Regions from separate parts of the Homo sapiens genome. Here regions 1 and 3 are each linked to region 2. Evidence: promoter capture Hi-C in human tissues and cell types (Jung and others, 2019). All regions are on one chromosome and are shown on one strand. Each heading gives the region's core, a stretch centred on a gene start or on the middle of the fragment in contact. The rest is flanking DNA. Distances are from core to core; before and after follow the strand shown. Region 1 has its middle 62 kb from the start of LINC00431. Region 2 holds the start of CARS2 (cysteinyl-tRNA synthetase 2, mitochondrial). Region 3 holds the start of LOC124903213 (a long non-coding RNA gene).

Region 1 (2,700 bases), core at 56-2,555, 320 kb after region 2:
TTTTAAGACGGGGTCTCATTCTGTCACCCAGGCTGGAGTGCAATGGCATGATCAGAGCTCACTGCAGCCTTGACCTCCAGGGCTCAAGCAATCCTCTTACCTCAGCTTCTGGAGTAGATGGGACTACAGACGCATGCCACAATGCCCGGCTATAGGGTCAATGTTTTTAAAAAAACAGCAGTTGTGCTTCTGTACACGAGTAACAAACAGAAACATGAGTAAAAACATCAGCTGTCAAATGTATTTAACAGGAGGTGTGCAAAGGTTCTGTGCAGAAACAGCATTACTGCGAGAAATAAAGAAATTCTAAATAAATGGAGGGAGATGCTAAATTGGGAAGATGATGTCATAAAGGAGTTAATTCTCTCTAAAATGATGCTTAGATAGCTGAAATTGCAATGCAAATATCAAAAGATTTTTACAGGCTGTTGTGTGGGAATGACCTTGATGCAAGGGTGGTCTCAAGGTCACTGTCAGGCAGGCGTTCCCAGAGGCCTTTGACGTACTGAGTCTCTCACACATCTTTGCCGGTTGAGATGTGTAACTGAAAAATCCCTGCCCAAAACAAGAGTGTTGGGGTCATGTGAAAGGATTCCTTTGTTCATACCCATGGGATCCACGATGTGGCCTCAAGTTACATATAAACCTTTGTGCTGGTAGAAGAATGATGATAGTTAATGCTCGCTGAGTACTTACAAGGATGGCAGTACTTTAATCTTTTCACGTTATGCGTGCCACTCGCATGACATGTACACACACCAGCTCATTTACTCTATGTATACTGCTTTGATTCTGAAATCTTGCTCAATACTGTAACACAAAATGCACCGAGGAGAGGTGCTAGAGAGTTAGGAACTGCATCTTCAAGTGGAAAAATACCAAAACTCCATAAAATATGTCAAAGAGGTTTATTCTGAGCCAACATGAGTGACCGCAGCCTGGGGAAAACACAAACCCAAGAAGCCCTGAGTGGGTGGTTTCGAGGCAGTCGGTATGCAACTCATACATTTCAGGGAGGCAGGAGGTACAGGCAAAGTCATGAATCAATACCTGGAGGTTATACTTTGGCTTGGCACAAAAAGGTGAGATATCTTGAAGTGGCGGCTTACAGATCATAGGCGGGATTAAAGATTCTTTGATGTGCAGTTGATTAAAAGAACAAAGCTTTCTCTGAAAACTCGGAGTCAGCAGAAAGGCATATTTAAGTTGAGATCAGGACTTCTGCTCATCATCATGGGGTACTACGCTGGAGCCAGGTTGCAAGTGCAAACCACAAGACACTGGAAGAAAATGACCTGTTTAGCAAGATTGACAGTCTGCAGAGATGACTCCTCCAGGCCCCTTAGGAAGGAATTTTGAATAAAGAGAAAAAGTTCAGGTCTCAGACTCCTAAGGCAGCATGTGGCTTTAGTCCCAGGGCCAAGAGCAAGGGTGGCCCTTGCTGATGCCTCCGAGGCCCTGTGTGCCCTCTGAGGCTGGTTGAGGGCAGCTTGAGAAGAGTCTGTGCTTTATCTGGATGATGAGGAAGCCTGGCAGCGTCCTCTTTTGGAAGATCCCCACAGAGGCCCTGCAGAGGTATAGTCAGGCCAGCATGCTGGAGAGCCAGGAGAAAAGCCAGCAGGCACTGAGCTAAGGCTGTGTAATAGGCTGGACAGGAGGGGAGAGATTTGGGAGAAATTTAAGAAGCAGGCTGGGCGCGGTGGCTCATGCCTGTAATCCCAGCACTTTGGGAGGCCCAGGAAGGCGGATCACAAAGTCAAGAGATCGAGACCATCCTGGTCAACATGGTGAAACCCTGTCTCTACTAAAAATACAAAAATTAGCTGGGCATGGTGGTGCGCGCCTGTAGTCCCAGTTACTTGGGAGGCTGAGGGAGGAAAATCGCTTGAATCTGGGAGGCGGAGGTTGTAGTAGCCGAGATTGCACCACTGCACTCCAGCCTGGTGACAGAATGAGACTCCGTCAAAAAAGAGAGAGAGAAAGAGAGAGAAAGAAAGAGAGAGAGGGAGGGAGGGAGGAAGGAAGGAAGAAAGGAAGGAAGGAAGGAGGAAAGGAAGAAAGAAATTTAAGAAGCAAAATTCGCAGGACTTGGTGATCTAGTGGGTGTAAACATTGCAAGGAAAAAGCCATTTAAGATGAATTCCAAGTGACCGGCTGAAATGTGCAACGGATATTCACTTTCTAAATAGAGTGCGCAGGAGGGGGTGTTTGGGTGGAGAAAATGGGGAGATGATTGGGTGCCTGTGAGCTGCAGTGTGGAGCACTCACGTGCCATAGAGATGCCGGGCAGGGTCGGGAGACTGGGCTCAGCAGCTCGGGGGTGCCGAGGTGGTAGCATCCAGGAGACCACCTGGGAGCGTGTGTCCAAGGGAAGTGGACTCCTTCCCCCCACCACACTCTTCTCTCTGCTGCAGGGACAGCCCCCAGAACAGTTCTTCTGTGGAAGGTTCTGAAAGACCCAAGACAGGTCAGTTCTCCATGGAACGTGGAAAAGGCTACTAAAAAGTACAGGCGCGTATTACTTAGAATCTGGTTTGGGGGACACGAAGCAGAAGGAAAAGCACGACATTGTAAAACAGATATGACTGTTGCGCCCATTGCTAAATTATACAGTGTGCCACAAGGGTCAAAAGGATGGTCCGTGAACACGCAGGCTCAGGGTCGGACTCCGATGGGGATGCATTTCCAGATACACGCCAG
Region 2 (2,700 bases), core at 140-2,639:
GACTCCGTCTCAAGAAAAAAAAAAAGTATACAGAGTAAATGTAACTTTTTACTTTTAGTCTAGGACTGAACAATACTAAGTTTTAAAAAATCTATAATATGTCATTTTTGTACATTATATTTTGGAAATGTACAAAATATTAGGAAAAGTGGTAATTTTGGCAAATGTAGGAGGCAGTACATCTTACAGTTAAAGAGGTCAAGAGAGCAACCACTTCGCAGTCAGAGAAACCAAGCCTCACCCCAGTTCCAATACCTCTTCAATGTGTCATCTTAGGAAAGTTACTCAATCACTATTGAGCCCCGTGACATCTCACATGTGAGGTACAGTGTTAAGCAGCATTTTATGGGCATTATTTACTAAAATTGTTATAAGATCCAAGTTATCATTCCCATCTCAAAGATGAAGAAACCAGGACTCAAAGCAATAAAGTGACCTGCTCAGTGCTGTGAAGCTAAGAAGTGGTGGGGCCCAGGAATGACTGATCAGCAGGACCCCGGGACCCCGCAAAGGCCTCTTGATGTCACTAAACCCAGCAAAAAACATCTAGTTCCAAAACGGGTCATTTTTCAGTGCTCCATTGTCTCCCTGAGTTTCCTCACCTGTAAAACGGGTGTAAGTGCTCAGAATCCCTATAAGAACCAAATGAGGTTGTAACATTTCCCACAATGCCTGGAATGTAGGAATTATTCTGCATCCCTAAGTTGCCACTTAAGAGATAAAAGAAATCAGCAAAAGGCTTTCAAAAATAAATGGTCCTTTGAAGTATGAAAATTCAAATCCAGGAAACTCACCAAGCATGGCCAAGGTGCGCATGATCATATACAGTTGGTCCACAGCTATACCTGGAAACAAAGTTAAAATCCATCGTGTGGAACATATTTGCAAGAAAGGACATTCGATTCTGAGTTATAATGATCATATAATTTTTAAAGTAATCACTTCTGGGGGATGAATAGCCGGGGTTTTCATACTTGCTCAATTCACACCCAAACCTGCAAAAGCACCGCGCACCCCCAGCTTCTAGAACGGCGCCCTCCATGCAGCTTCCTAAACGCCCTCCCCGAGCCCAGATCCCGTTCAGCCGTGGGAAGTCTCCGCCACGATCGGCCCCCGCCCGTGCCCCAGTCCCGCGCGGCCCACCAGGAGGCGGCTTCGGCGTGCGCCACGATTAGGGGTTCCTTCCTCCCGGTGAGGCTGTTGTACACCTGCACACCCGTCTCCCGGCCCGTGGGCTGCAGCCAGGCCCGCCCGCGCCCCCCGCTCGCCGCCCGGCCCGCAGGCCAGTGCCACCCAGCCCGCCCAAGGCCCAGCGCGGCCTGGAGCAGCGGGGGGCCCAGGCCTGGGCCGCGCGTAGTCCTCAACATGTCAGCGGCCAGCGCCTACGACTGGGCGGAGACGGGAGCCACGCCGGGTACGCTGCCGGTCGCTCAAGAGCAGCACGGCCCCGCCCCGCCCCGCCCACGCCCTTGGGGCCACGCCCACTCCCGGAAGCAGTCCTCAGGTAGCGCCTCCCTTTGGCCTGGCTCGAGTCGCCCGCGGCAAGGGTGGAGAACCAGGGCCCGAAGAGGTTGGGGCGGGGAAGGCCCGGGGTGGAGGGAGGAGGGCGGTGCCGCGCCGGGAGGCCGTGGGAAGAGGCGGTACCGTGCCGATCTCCTCTCCTTATTAGCCCAGGTCCTGCGAGGCGTCCGTGTGCGCGCGGTACCAGCCTGGAGCTGTGTCCGCCGCGCGGGAGGAGCGTTTACAGTGCAAGCTTCTGTTGCCGGGCCCTGGCCTGTTAGCGAAGCACGTGTGCATCCCAGCACAGCCCACGTCAGCACGCTAATACACAGTGTCCACCCCAGAACACACGTCAGCACCCCAATACAGTGTGCACCCCAATACAGTGTGCACCCCAAACACACATCTGCGCCCCAATACAGTGTGCACTGCAGCACACCGTTAGCATCCCAACACAGTGCACCCCGATACACAATGTGCAACCCAACACACAGTCTGCACCCCAAGAAGTGTGCACCCCAATACACAGTATGCACCCCAGCACACACATCAGCATCCCAATACAGTGTGCACCCCAATACAGTGTGCACCCCAGCACACACATCTGCACCCCAATAGTGTGCACTGCAGCACACCATCAGCATCCCAACACAGTGCACCCCGATACACAGTGTGCAACCCAGCATACAGTCTGCACCCCAATACACAGTATGCACCCTAGCACACACCACATCAGCATCCCAATACAGTGTGCACTCCAATACAGTGTGCACCCCAGCACACACCATGTCTGCACCCCAGTACAGTGTACACCCCAATACAGTGTGCACCCCTAATACACTGTGCACTCTAACACACACCATGTCTGCACCCCAGTACAGTGTGCACCCCAACACAGCACATGTGCATCCCAGCAAACACTGTCTGCATTCCAATGCAATGTGCACCTCAATAGAGTGTGCGCCCCCACACATCTACACCCCAATACAGTGTGCACCCCAATACACAGTGTGCAACCCAACACACACCATGTCTGCACTCCAATACACAGCATGCCTCCCCCACCATGATCCCGTATCTTGAGAACAAAAACATTCTGAAAGTTACTCACAATAGCTTGACAAACGTGCCTCTATTGGGCCAGGCGCAGTGGCTCACACCTGTAATCCCAGCACTTTGGGAGGCTGAGGCGGATGGATC
Region 3 (2,700 bases), core at 109-2,608, 270 kb after region 2:
TTTATGTAACCAGACTCCTCAGTTAAAGGTCATTTTCAAAGCACACCTGCACTTGTTTTTTTCTTATGAAAATATCCTGTATATCCTTAATTTGGCAATATAAATGTGACCAATTGTTTTAAAAACAGAAGTGATGCTGGATATTAAAATGTAAACTGTTTTCTAAATGAAAAACTTAAAGGAATGTAATTAGAGAAGTATAAACAGTGGTTAATATGCTGCTTCTTGAAAAGACATATTACAACTTACAGTCTTTCTTCATAAGTGTATGTTGTTACTGTTTAATCAGGAGTGTGATTGTATTCAGCTGTTAAGCAATCCTATTAGCTGGGAAATTGCATTATTATTTGCTGGTCTGTTTATGTTATATTGTTGTTGGCACTCTAAGTTTCTCTTTTTTCTCCAAGCCTTTCTTACTCTGGTCTCTGTAATCTGTATAATTGTCTTTTTTAACTTTTATCTTTAGAAAATATTGAATAGAGATACTGGGAGTGATTAACTGTGTCAGAATCACAAAGTTCTAGTGCTTTTCAGATTAATCCTGGAGACATTATGTTGCTGTTTTAAAAGACAGAAGGACCTAGATCCATCATGGAGTGCCACAGCAGGGTTGTGGCCAATGGTCCTTCCTGCCTAGGGAGAATCCACAAATGGTATCTAGGAAGACCTGCTGCTGACCAGACCAAGGCCACTTCAGTGCATGACATCTTCTTGGACTCATCAACCTTGACCTCAATGGTCAGAGATCTCTCTACTAGTAATTCTAAGTGTTGGCAACAAAAATGAAGAGAGCAAAATAGGGAGTGCTCTCTATTCTGGGGAAGCAACAGTGGAAGATTTGCCTGAGTAAGAAAATCTCCTAAAAGTTTTCTGTGTCCATCTAAACATTCATACATTCATACATACTTCATTCCTTTGTTCATTCATTTATTTTCCTTGTCTTCTCATAGAATATGTTTTCTGAGATCAGGTTACTATGTTGCTGTTACAGGAAATCGGATTAATTTTAAATTTCTATATGCAATAAAACAAAAGCCTTTGACATCTCCCTTTTATTTTCAACAGTTAATGAGTTTAGAAGCTCATTGATACGGTTTGGCTGTGTCCCCACCAAAATCTCATATTGAATTCCCACGTGTTGTGGGAGGGACTCAGTGGGAGGTAATCGAATCATGGGGGCAGGTCTTTCCCATGCTGTTCTTGTGGTAGTGAATAAGTCTCATGAGATCTAATGGTTTTATAAAGGGGCGTTTCCCTGCATGAGCTCTCTCTCTTTGCCTGTCACCAGCCATGTAAGACAGGACTTGCTCCTCCTTGCCTTCCACCATCATTGTGAGGCCTCCCAAGCCACATGGAACTGTGAGTCCATTAAACCTCTTTTTGTGTATAAATTACCCAGCTCTGGTATGTCTTTATCAGTAGCATGAAAATGGACTCATACACTCAGTTTTAAAACAAGTTACATGAAGTTGCAGAGCTCTTTAAGAAAGCCATGACTTGCCCAGACAAATCAGTACTAGTGTGTTAACTGAACTCAATTTGATTTTTCTGGGCTTTGCTTTGTATTGGCCCCTTCTTGTTAAATAAAAATAAGAAATTAAATAAAAATGTTAACAAATAGTTTTGACAAAACTGAATATAATACACAAAACATTGTGATGCAGCTTAAAATTTAAAAAGAAAAAAAGAACAGCTTCAAGAGAATTAAGTACTAATTAAGTACTAAGAGAGCAATCATCAGAGCTAGATACAAAACATCTAATATCTTTTGAGAAACATTCCTTATGTTACCCAATTCTTCCTTACACATCTTACTGGCTAATTGAGAAAGCAATGCATTAAAATCACATTGAAATGAATTAATATGATAACTGGAAGCAATGAGAGGTAACTGAGACATAATTGCAAATGCAGAATTTTTTTCAATTTGAAATTGAACATTTAACAACCAATTTGGAATTTTCTATTTTTGAAAATCCAGTAGCTCTTGGAGTGAATAGACCAAATGACTCCATTTTAATAGGTCTCATCATTGATCTCTGCTTATGAAATTTGCTTCATTGCCTTTGTGTACCTGAGACTGAAATGCAGAGCTGTTCTGGAGCCTCCAGGTAGTCCAGGATTTCAGTGCAAACTTGTCTTACACAAAGAGGTCTGTAAAAATAATCTGGCTGCTATGATTTGAATGTCCTCTCCAAAACTCATGTTAAAGTTTAATTGTCTTTGTGATGGTATTAAGAGATGGGACCTTTAAGAGTTAATTAGGTCATGAGGGCTCTGCCTTCCTGAATAAGTTAATGCCATTATCATAGGAGTAAGTTTGTTATCTCGGGAATTCAGCCCCCTTTCTCTCTGTGTCTTGCACCTGCCTCACCATGTGATGCCTTCTGCCATGTTAGGATGTAGCAAGAAGGCCCTCACCACCTGTGGCCGTACAGTCTTGGACCTTCCAGCCTACAGGACCCTGAGACACACAAATCTCTCTTCTTTATAAATTACCTAGTCTATAGTATTCTATTACAGCAGCAAAAACAGACTAAGACACTGGTCTTTTACTTTTGATTTTGTTTCTATTGATTTTTACTAGGTACATCTAATTTCACCTCTTGAAGATGGCTGACATGGTCACTGAACTGAAGCTTTGTGGTGAAGAAACTATTAAGCAAATGGGGAGGAAGAGCCATACAATTTCACTTTAGT

The links. The method cuts DNA at HindIII sites, captures the fragments that hold promoters and counts their contacts. A contact is called where the count stands out against the background at its distance.
Region 1: a fragment that was not itself captured here is called in contact with the fragment with the promoter of CARS2 in region 2 in 1 of the 25 tissues and cell types used here (dorsolateral prefrontal cortex).
Region 3: a fragment that was not itself captured here is called in contact with the fragment with the promoter of CARS2 in region 2 in 1 of the 25 tissues and cell types used here (heart right ventricle).

What each region holds. Positions count from the first base shown.
Region 1 is chr13:111,027,053-111,029,752 of GRCh38, forward strand. No RefSeq gene overlaps it. Among named protein-coding and RNA genes, the nearest start is that of LINC00431, 62 kb to the left of the region's middle. The HindIII fragment of the contact is 3,515 bases long and covers 1-2,700 here.
Region 2 is chr13:110,704,727-110,707,426 of GRCh38, forward strand. It overlaps CARS2 (cysteinyl-tRNA synthetase 2, mitochondrial), which reads right to left and starts at 1,390. Exons shown (of 15, transcript NM_024537.4): 1 at 1,144-1,390; 2 at 795-845. The coding sequence starts at 1,367. RefSeq lists a silencer at 1,198-1,757 and enhancers at 1,808-2,187, 2,198-2,317. The HindIII fragment of the contact is 14,015 bases long and covers 1-2,700 here.
Region 3 is chr13:110,973,935-110,976,634 of GRCh38, forward strand. All of the region lies in intron 1 of LINC00431 (long intergenic non-protein coding RNA 431), which reads left to right. LOC124903213 (a long non-coding RNA gene) reads left to right here and starts at 2,277. Exons shown (of 2, transcript XR_007063875.1): 1 at 2,277-2,698. The HindIII fragment of the contact is 4,834 bases long and covers 1-2,700 here.